2 separate regions of the Homo sapiens genome follow, and region 2 is linked to region 1. The links are contacts of gene promoters, found by promoter capture Hi-C in blood cells and fetal thymus (Javierre and others, 2016). All regions are on one chromosome and are shown on one strand. Each heading gives the region's core, a stretch centred on a gene start or on the middle of the fragment in contact. The rest is flanking DNA. Distances are from core to core; before and after follow the strand shown. Region 1 holds the start of PTTG1IP2 (PTTG1IP family member 2). Region 2 overlaps CDK14 (cyclin dependent kinase 14).

What was found. Contacts are between HindIII fragments. The CHiCAGO score rates a contact against its expected background, and 5 or more counts as called.
Region 2: a contact is called between a fragment that was not itself captured here and the fragment with the promoter of PTTG1IP2 in region 1, in 1 of 17 cell types (M2 macrophages). The highest score is 5.6, in M2 macrophages.

What each region holds. Positions count from the first base shown.
Region 1 is chr7:90,465,754-90,471,446 of GRCh38, reverse strand. It overlaps PTTG1IP2 (PTTG1IP family member 2), which reads right to left and starts at 1,808. Exons shown (of 7, transcript NM_001365443.2): 1 at 1,516-1,808. The coding sequence starts at 1,660. The HindIII fragment of the contact is 9,262 bases long and covers 1,234-5,693 here.
Region 2 is chr7:91,013,224-91,018,944 of GRCh38, reverse strand. All of the region lies in intron 10 of CDK14 (cyclin dependent kinase 14), which reads right to left. Among named protein-coding and RNA genes, the nearest start is that of FZD1, 250 kb to the left of the region's middle. The HindIII fragment of the contact is 5,554 bases long and covers 1-5,174 here.

The DNA of each region.
Region 1 (5,693 bases), core at 559-3,058:
ATTTCTTGAGATATTGATTACTAAGCTCTCAAATGTAAATGAACATCAGAGATAGAAGTCCTGGGGATCAAAACAACCTGCTTAGGGGGAGGTCTCACTTGATGTGCAATCCTTCACAAAGTCCTGTCTGTTGCCTGTCACTTAGGGCACAATCTGGGACATAGATGAGGATCTCGTGAAGGCTTAGAAGCCCCTTTTCAGTTTTGGAAGTGAAAAGTATCATGATGTCTAAGAAACCATATCCTTGTTAGATGGGAAGATTAAATGCAAGCACTAAGGGGAACTGGCCTGAGACTAAGATGCAAGCATTCAGGAGAGGCCCTTGGCAGGCAAGGTGTTTCCTTAGAAACATGGGCTCCAGTTGGCCAGCCCTAGAAGTGAGCTAGCTAGCAACAGAAACTTCCATCTTTGGAGATTATCTTAGATGTGATTTTTGATTTATTTTATTTGTTTTCTTTCTTTTTTCTTTTTTTTTTTTTTTTTGTTCTTCATCAGCATTTTGATAAAGTCTTAAGACGTGAAAAATTTCCGGTATGAGTCCAGTTTGCTAGGGAACAAAAGGAAGAATTTGTTTTTATGTTTGGGCCTATGCTTTCAGGTGCTGTTTGTTGGGAGAAGGGGCCAGGATGGCACTGGAACACTATTTCTCTTAGAGTATGTATAGAGGTGACCAAGAGGTTAAAAAAGAGAAATCTGTGGGAAAGATGAAACCAAAGAAAACAAGCTAGCTCTTTTAATTCAGCGTCGCCCCAACCCTACCCCCTCGAAGGAGATTCTTATTTCAGTGCAACGCTGAGAACTGTGGATTTGGTTTTAGTAAGGAAGACTGATTTGCTTACAGATACTAACATTCTTTTCTACTCTGGAAACCAGACAGCAGTAATTATTCTGTCTCATTGTCTTTGTAAAAATGGCAATCTTGGCTTTACAGGGCACTTTCCAAGTAATTCAAATTCTGTCTCTTATTTTGTCTATACGGTTCCAATTTAGGATACTTAAAACCTTATTTCCAGGTTCATGAATTTAACTCAGCATGACTTTTAACATTTCAAAATTTTTTCAATTTGGAAGGAAATCGAGAGAGGCCTCCAAACTGAAGTAATTTTTTTATGAAAAAGAACAAATAAAGCATTTTATTAACTAAGACCTTAAAAAACTTAAGAAAGAGGAACTATGACCATTGAGTGGGTCTGATTAGAACAAAACCCAATGGCTTATTCACAACAAAAAGCTTATATGTCATAGGTCATGCAGAAAGTGATGGGGGAGAAACCATGCTTTTCCTCAAATTTAAAACTTTGAATCTACCTTTCATATTTCAGATAAACCAAATTAATCTGAGTCCAATTTAACTGAGTTTCACCAAAACCATCTAGAACCTTTAAAATGTCTTCCCACCAACACCAAATGACAACTTTTGAGATGAAAATTCCAGTGCACCAGGATGGCACCATTAAAAGGAAAAAAAACGCTGGAGCATGTGGGGCACCCACCTCAGGACTCCAGATCACTCACCCTCTTCATTCCCATCTCTTGGTTTCTGATTGTTCCTGGGGCTGTGGATAAAACCATTCTCTGAGAAGCTGATAAGCAATTGGATGAGAAAGAGGGAGAGGAAAACTGGCAGGAGGATCTGGCCCCATGCCCGCAGCCAGCACATCTCTCTTCAGACCTGGTGACCCCAGCCACTGGGAACCTGGCAGGCACCAGCTACAGTGTTGGACACTGAGACCCGCCCAGAGACTGTGACCTACCACAGCCCTGGGTGCTGAAGCTGCCACTTGCAAGCCCTGGATGCCAGCATAATCAGCAGAACCTTAGAATCCCTAATGTTCTAGCCAGAATGTAGAATGTTCATAGTGCAATCCTCGTCGGCACTGGGTCCAGCTTCCTGGGCCCTGAATACCATGTACAGTTGGTCCACTGGACTTGACTGAGGTCTATTTCTCCCAAATCAACACTTTTCCCTACTACATTGTTGTTTTTTGGAGAAAGACCTGGATTCTAATTCTCACTACTTGAATATGTGTACAGAAGTTGCACTCTTCCATGCTGCCTTTTCTCTGATGTAAATGAACCTACCACCCACTGCACTCCATGGGAGTGGTTGTGCGATCAATGAGTGGTAAGGCCGTGAAACTCACAGCTCTGTAAACCCTTGGTCTTGTCCTTGACTAGCCTGGTGATCCTATTGACGTGCTCTAATGCAGTTTCCTAAAGGTAGGTATGTTTTGGGTAGTACATAAATGTCTTTTATTTTCATAGTTATGAATTTATTTTAATGCGTATTGGAAAAATATAACCAGTAGTTACAATGATGTAATAGCAACGATATATGCTTTTAAAATAAATCTGTGCAAAAAGGACAATTTTCAGAAATATAAATAGTACACAACTTAAAGGATATGGCAAAAATTGGGGAGGTGGTTCCAGAATGACTGAAATTTGAGCAATCTTGCCCCAGTATGTGTGGTTGGGGAGGGGTAGAGGTGGGTGATGAAAACTTGTCCTTGACCAGGAATTATCTTGTTTTGTTTTTCAAAAACGATCAGGTGGGAAGATCGCTTGAGCCAAGAAGTTCGAGGCTGCAGTGAGCTATGATCGCATCAGTGCACTCCAGTCTGGGCAACAAAGCAAGACCTTTTCTCTAAAAAAATTATTTAAAAAAATTTAAAAAACAAATGTTGCAGTTTTCCCATAGTATTCCTGGCATATTGATCTAGACTGCATCCTGAGGACTATGGGTCTAGTATGGACAATAAAGATGGAGGAGGAGAAGATGTGCAGAGTTCCAGGCTAATTTTTCTTCACCCATTTGCAATGCAGAGGACAGACAGAGGGTTATTAGCTATAATATAAAAAGTGCTTTTATAAATTGACAAAAAAAAGGACAAAAGATAAACAATAGGAAAACGGACAAGAGATGTGGAGAATCCATGGACAGAAAAGCAAATCCAAGTAGCCAATGAATATATGAAAAAAATAGTTTAGAAACACTAGTACTAGGAACTAGGAAATTATAAATTAAAACTAATAATGTAAACATCAGGTAGGCAAGCATTTAAAAAGAAAACTAAGATATCATTGGTGAAGTTGTGGGGGAAAAGGTACTATTATACTTTTTGGAGGAACTGTAAATTGTTACAGTGTCTTTAGAAAGCAAACTTGTTGCTTTCTAAAGCAGCCATTAAAATGAAAAATACATATATTCTATGTTCATATTGTTTCTTGGAGACCTGCCCCTCATTGCCTCTCAGTTCTCATGGTATGGGTGGAGTTCCAACTCCTACTTTGGAAGTAGGACATGAAAACTACACCTGAGCAAAGCAGGTCATAAAACTTCCCTGGCCACCATGCCTGGCTCAGGAGTGGGGCACATGACCTAGGTTGGTCTAATCCAAGTCAATCTCAGAGCTTTTGCTAGGAATGCTAGGATAAAGATGCTTGTCTTCCTCTGGATTCAAATTTGGAAGGACTTAGTCTCTGTAGCTGCTAAAAGCCATCATAAGTCTATGTGGGAGATGGGCACGTTGGCTCATGCCTATAATCCTAGTACTTTGGGAAGCTGAGGCAGGCAGATTGCTTGACTCCAGGAGTTCAAGACCAGCCTGGGCAACATTGTGAAACCCTGTCTCTACAAAAAACAAAACAAAACAAAACAAAACACAAAAAATTAACCAGCATGGTAGTGTGCACCAGCTACTCAGGAGGCTGAGGTGCAAGGATCACTTGAGCCCAGGAGGCAGAAGTTGCAGTGAACGGAGATTGCACCACTACACCCCAGCCTGGGTGACAGAACAAGACCCTGTCTCAAAATAATAATAATAAAAGAAAAAAAGACTATGTTGAATATGGCCATTAAAATGCCCATATCAAATTAAAATTGACTGATGGACTCAGCTGCTGTCCCTCAGATGTATCCACCATATTCATCTCAAGGCCATGCTTCCTACAAGCTACTCTCAGGCAAGACTAAACATGGGAAGGAGTACTAATATGGGATACTTTTAGTGGAAGATTTTGGCTTGAAAATTCCCCATCAAAGTGGTTGAAACTTTCTTAGAATTGTGCTGCACTCTGAAACTCTACCAACCAAATTCTCCTTCCTCCTTTCCTCTCTCTTCACTGATGTCAGACCTGCATTGCTGTCTGAAGGTTCTCACCTGCACTAGCTCCTTCCCCTTTATTTTTTCTTTTCTTTTCTTTTCTTTTCTTTTCTTTTTTTTTTTTTTTTTGAGACAGAGTTTTGCTCTCTCTTGTTGCCCAGGCTGGAGTGCAATGGCGCGATCTCAGCTCACCACAACCTCCACCTCCTGGGTTCAAGCAATTCTCCTCTCTCAGCCTCCCAAGTAGCTGGGATTACAGGCATGTGCCACCATGCCTGGCTAATTCTGTATTTTTTTTTTAGTAGAGACGGGGTTTCTCCATGTTGGTCAGGCTGGTCTCAAATTCCTTACCTCAGGTGGTCCGCCCACCTCAGCCTCCCAAAGTGCTGGGATTACAGGTATGAGCTACTGTGCCTGGCCTCTGCTTTATTTTTTGTGTTTCCCCAGTAAAACTCTTGGACTTCTAATCCCATCTTAGCAGATCTTGAAGGACCTGAGCTAATACAAATGCTACTGAGTGTTCTGACAGAACCAGTGGTAAGATAAAATTTTGAGATTTGTTTACTCACTATCCGATGGACAGAGCTCCAGAGACATTTTGATGATACCAGCCAGGCAGGTCTGTATGCTAAAGGTAAGAGCTTGGGTTGGGAAAATTTGGAATCCTGAAACAGCTTCTGTGGTGAAACATTATTACTCTATTACTTTGAGAACCCCACTATCCCCATAGATGTTAATGAGTTCAGCTCTGTGACTGCCTCTACTGTCAGTTTTGGCTTGCAGAGGGGAGCTGCTGAATTTTTTAGTGATGTTGGTGCCCTTCTTACCAGCACATTCCTGATGGCCTTGGTGAATGGATGGATACTCCTAATGTTGACTCTGCAGATCCTCCAGGAATCTAAGAACTTGCAGCGGGGGGCTGACCTTTCCGCTGGAAAACACAATAAGGGTATCTTAATAGGTGTCCTCTCAGGAGAACCCCGACCTCTTCTCTTGGCTGCTAGGCCAATAACTAGGGTTAAATCCAGCTGGGGACATGCTGGGCCTGAGAAAGGAGGAAAGAAATTATATTACAAGATATAACTAGCCAATGAGGGCCACCAATACTGAATTTTGAGGGTGTTTGCACAAGGGGCTAGAATATGAAACTGAACAAGCAAGGTTTCTTTGACTTGGAAGTACTTTTGTAGGACATGAAATTTAATGGCCTGGTAAGACCCAGGGGACAGTGTGAACTCATTGTTAGAATGGCTCTTAGAAGCCTAAGAAAGTGATCCAACACTGAGCAAAGTGGAAATGCCTGAGTTGCCTAGGCAGGAGGAAGAGGAAGGAATAAAAAGGCTGAGAAGGAGAAGTTGGCTTGCTGGAGTGGCTACATTATGTGAGGTCAGAAAAACTACAAGATAACTATGTTCCAGGGGAGAGTCCAGAGGAAACACCATTCACCAAGGAAATCAGGAATGTGCTGGTAAGAAGGGCACATGCATCACTGAGAAGTTCAGTAGCTCTCTTCTTCAGGCCAAGACTGACAATAGAAGCAGTCACAGAGCTGCAATCGTTAATATCCAATGGGAATACTGGGGCCTC
Region 2 (5,721 bases), core at 1,148-3,647, 550 kb before region 1:
AGTCCTCAGGAATGGGATTAATGTCTGTATTAGTCCATTCTCACACTGCTATAAAGAAATACCTGAAACTGGGTAATTTATAAAGAGGTTTAATTGGCTCACTGTTCCACAGGCTGTACAGGAAACATGGCTGGGGAGACCTCAGAAAATTCACAATCATGGAGGAACATGAAGGGGAAGCAGGCACGTTTTACGTGACTAGAGCAGGAGGAAGAGACAGAGAAGGGCGAGGTGCTGCACACTTTTAAACAACCAGATTTTGGGAGAATTCACTCACTATCATGCAAACATCAAGGGGGAAATCCACCCATGATCCAATCACCTCCTGCCAGGCCCCTCCTCTCACACTGGGGATTACAATTCGACATGAGATTTGGGTGGGGACACACAGCCAAACCATATCAATGCCCTTGTAAGGAGTTGAGGAGATAGAGTTTTCCCCTTCTACCATGTGTAGACTCTGCAAGAAGATATTTTTTATTTATTAATTTTTTTGTGTGAGAAAGAGGGCCCTCATCAGATACCAAATATGCCAGGGCCTTCCCAGCCTCCAGAACTATGAGAAGTAAGTTTCCATTGTTTATAATTTACCCAGCTTATGGTATTTTGTTATGGCAACTCAAAGAGACTAAGACAGTTCTCTTATGTTCATGATACAGACAAGGGTCAGGAAGTGAAGTTCATTGTATGAGGACAAACAGCTAGTAAATGGAAGAGGAAGAAGAAGAATGGGGAGCTCACACCCAAAGGCCTAGGTTCTTTCTACAAGATCACACTGCTCCTCAGGCTTTAGAACAAAGATGGCTTCCTTTCCTTCCTGTTTCTTTTGCTTCCTTTGTACTGAAGATTTCAAATTTATCCAGTATGTATGTACTTGCCATTTACGTCATCAGTTATAAATTCACTCAGAAATACCACTGTCCCCCATGCCTCTTTTAGGAAACATGGTCACATTTATATGTCTGCTGTTTGCCAGCACAACCTCTGTCTGATGCACAGTAGATCTAATTTGGTTTCATCCAATCCCCGAAATTGGATGAAGCTGGTTTGCAGCCCATTTTTAGTTATGAAAATAATCTGGAAGGCTGGCTAGCATTTGTACCCTAGTGGCCCTGTAATTCAAAAGGGCTTGTTATCTCTGTGCACAGATTCACCTACTCAGAGAACAAAAGCAATATCAGAACACACTGGTGTTAGCCCTTCCTAAAAGAGTTATGTGAAGGCAGAGCCCTTCCAGACGCTGTGATACTCATCCATCATATAGCAGTGCCCATTTATTCTGTCTATGTCAAACACAAACACCTATCGACCATCTGAAGTAATCAATAATAGCAATACACAGACCAAAAGTCCATCATTCAGGCAGCACCACCAAGCACCTACTGCTGAGCCTAAAGTGTATATGAAAGCTGACCTGGAGATACCTTGTTTTAAAAGAGTTCATCTCTCTAAAAGCATTTTAAACTCCAACTTTAAAAATTATTAGGAAAATATCACATATGAAAAACAAAATAACAATTAACAATATTTGAGAGTATTTAATAAAAAGTGAGTCTGTTAGCATAGGCCCAGTCCTGAGCCCTGTAAGAAACCACCAGCTAGAAATCCTCCCTGCATGCCCTGGATATTGTATCATGTCCATCTGTTTAGCCACTTTCTCTTCCTTCCTCTAATGTGAACTTAGACCTAGTTTGTACTTAGCTTTTTTCCTTTATATATCTTAAAGAGCTTCTTCTATTGGAGAAAACAGTGGGGAATAAATTCTTAAGTCAATCACTCTTAAAAAGTGAAATATATCTCACTAAGAAGTATTAACTTCATAGAAAATAGACCTGTGTACTTAAATTATTTTTGCTCATTACAAATACATTCCAGCAGATAAAGTGAAGAAAGGAAACACCACTGGGGGCTCAAGAACAGTCAAAAAAGAGCCCCATAGGAATTTTGCCTGCCTTCTTCCTTAATATCATTTTGTTGCTTATTTCCCTTTCTTCTTTTTCTTAATAGGAAAAATAGGCCCAATGAAGTTTTTGGGAGGCTTTCGCAAAGGTCCCTTCTAGGTCATCTTCTGTGCCTTCACTGGTGTATGCGAAGTTACTATAGACAATGCTTTGTTTAGTTTTGTTTGAAAGTTTGGCTTATGAAAAAATATCACTCCTATTCCTCTAATAGAATCTAGGTTCCGAAACCTTAAAACATGCTATAGATGATGAATATAAAAACTACCTAGCATACATAGTAGCAGTGGATTTGCCACAGCAAGGTCAGAGATAAATATGTTATTCAAATTTCAAACGCACCCTACAATTCTGCTTAAGACCTGAACTGCAAAGCTCTCAAGAAGTACTCCCTCAACATCTGAAATAATTGAAAACCAGGTTGGGTGGGCTGAGGAGGGGTAGTTAAAATGCATAACTCACTTTCAAAAGAGGTTGATAGTCTAGCTGGAGCCATATGGTACCATAAAACAGGGTATAATCTAAATTTAAGTATCTATCTAGTTCATTGTACCACCTAGGATAATGGCTTGATGGCTTTTCATCAATATATGAGAGCATGTTTAGGACCGTCTAAATTGAGGAATACAAAATTCAGTCTGTGATTCCTGAAAGGCCACAAAAAATCATGGTAAAATGAGAGGCGTGTGTAAAGGGTGATTGGTAGAAACAAACATGTTAGAGTACTATGTTTTGTCAGCAGAGAAAACACATTGGTTTTCAAATATTCTCAAATCAAAATTCATAATGGAAGAAGTGCTAACCTACAGGCATTGTTCTGAAGGTAGATACTGGTTGTAGGGCTGCTTTTCTTGTGGGCAGCTCTATGTAGCTCCACACAACATCCTCCAGGGTGTTAGCAGCAGGGATCTATTTATTTAATGATGGTTCATATAGGCATTGCTCACTTTAGGTCAGTTATCCATATCTGAAAAGCCAATGTTCTCCATGAAAATACTGATAACCTATTTCCCATTACTTTAAATGAGAAATATTTTGATATAGTACATGTCAACCCCAAAATCCCAATCAACTTCCCAAAATGTAATTAAAACATAGTAATCTGCTAACATGTAAATCATCAACTATCATTTTAGGATGCTTGTTGAAAATCTAACAAATATTTTTGTGAAATGTTTATATGCCTTTTTTTTTTGGTATATAAACACAGAACTGATTCATACCCATATTCCATGAAGTAAGGTATAAAAAAACCAAGACAACCCCATCTCTACTAAAAAAAATACAAAAAATTAGCCGGGCATGGTGGCGGGTGCCTGTAGTCCCAGTTACTCGGGAGGCTGAAGCAGGAGAATGGCTTGAACCCGGGAGGCGGAGCTTGCAGTGAGCCGAGATCATGCCACTGCACTCCAGCCTGGGCAACAAAGCGAGACACAGTCTCAAAAAAAAAAAAAAAAAAAAAAAACCCAAGACATACTCTGCTGGGGTAGGGAGACCCAACAAACCTATTCATTGGGAAGATGAATGCTACAGGATACATCTTCAATTATTGTGAGCAATTCTGGGAGCAGATGGCATATAGGGTAAGTACAATCTGTTTGATCTGAATTGCCAGTGAAGAGTAATTATGAAAAGGAAGAGCATCCTGGGGCTAAAGACCCCATAGCAGTGAAGAATGTACAGAACTTGGGTAAGGGAGTGAAAACAGGGAGTGTCTTGAGGAAGGAGTTAATGCTCAAGGAAAGAAAAATAAGAATGACCTTAATTAGTAAGAAAACTGATCTGATTTGTTAAAGAGGAACAATGGGCAAGTAAGGTTGACACAGATAAGAAGAGATTAAAGTATCTGGACTTCATATAAAGCAGAAAAAAAATTAGCAAAAACACAAATAGATTAAGGCAAAGTCAAATGACACATTACACAGAATATTATCTATTACATAAAGATAGATAGACTCCTATAAGAGAAAAATACTAAGTATGCTAATAAGGAAAATTAGTGACAATGGACATAGGTTTCAAAGACTTAGCTGCAAGCAAGCAATATGAATTTTCATATCAACAAGGAACTAATCATAGACTTTGAAAAACTGAAAGGGGATTTCACAGTTGGCCCTTGCCCCAGTCAACCAGGCATCTTTAGAAATGGTCGGTCCATACAGCTAGGCAGGTGGACACTCAGGCTCCTCACCCATGCTGGGGCGTGCACCATAATGGAATTTAATATTTATATCTGAAATCGAACAAACTTCTATTAGTAACAATACACATAGCTAACCTTTACTGGCAGCTAACCTACTTTAATGACAATGAACCCATGGTATGGCTGTTTGATATATTAGCTTGCTTAGTGCTTTCAGAATCCCTATGCTTGTTTAATACTACTGCTACCTCTACATCACACTTAGCTTGGTCACAACATAGTCTTCTAATAAAAATAAGGGAAAAATCATCATCATTGTATGTTTTATAGTTGGTAACTCTAAACTCATTTATTAAAACTCTTGGAAAAAGAACATGGGCTAAATCATTCTAAACATGATCTCATGTTTGACTCCAAGAAAGGAACGAAAAGTTCACAAAGTAATATCAAATTCTGTTCTGGATTACCTTTGTGTTTCAGATTTCTCTTGTCTATAATAAAATGTTGAGTTGCAAAAGAGAAAAATCCCTGAAATATAAGCTAATTTGAGAAAGCAAGGGGGCCAACTAGTGCACAGCTTAATATAAACAAAAAAGTGTAATTTTACAGTTAAATTCTGCTCCCTTGTTCCCCAACCCCCAACTCCTCATTACCAGGAATGTATGTATTAAAACTTTGGTTTTTCTAATATGTGACTTCAAAAATCAGCACTGGATTATGATAAACTGAATGTGAATTCTGGTAATGGGACAAGTAGACAGACAAGAGATGTCATCTAGTGTGATATTTCAAGGTTCTAATACCTTGACAACTAATAAAACCGTCCTCAGCTTAAATACCAGAAGAGTTTATGTAAGGTACTCTCACCACATATGTAACTATAAAAGAAGAAAAAATTAGGTCACCTACTTTCCAGTTCAATTTCCCTATTTTTAATAGTTATTTCGCTAGTCACACAGACTCATGCAGGGTTGAAAATGCTCTCTAGAATTCCCTCCTGTGCAAAGCTAAAAAACCTCTTCAGATTGAGTCTTCATTACATGTTCCCTCAATTAATTCTGTTATATAAAGCTTGTGATTATCATTGTGAGACACTATGATTCTCCTAACTCAGAACCACTCTTTCTTAACTTAAGGTAAATCAAGGAGAAGCAGTAGAGAAAAAAAGAAAAAAAAAAAAAAAAAAACAGAGGCAATGAGACCGTGTGATCCACAGAAAGATTTTTCCTTAAAAACACTGGTAATTGCCAGGACAGGAACGTAGGTTTCAACCAGATTGCTCAAATTTTCTTAGTGCCAAAGTGACATTTTAACAGGAAAGGAGAAAAAGCTCCCTGTGGAAAATGAACTGGTAGTTTCCTTTGATGATTTCTAGAATGTCTTTCTTTAAAATCTTGACTCAGTTTCAGGGCTTATAAAATTGTTAGTCATAGGTAATGAAGTCAAATACAAAGTTTTAATAATTGGTAGAAGCAAGTGGACAGAAGCAAAGAACAATCCATTGCCAGAAAGCAGAACTCAAAGTAGAAAGTGAAAATAGATGAGTTTAATACTAGCTGGTCTATCTCCTACTGAAGAACAAATCAGAAGCCTTGGTAAGACCTCCCTAAGGGAGGCCGT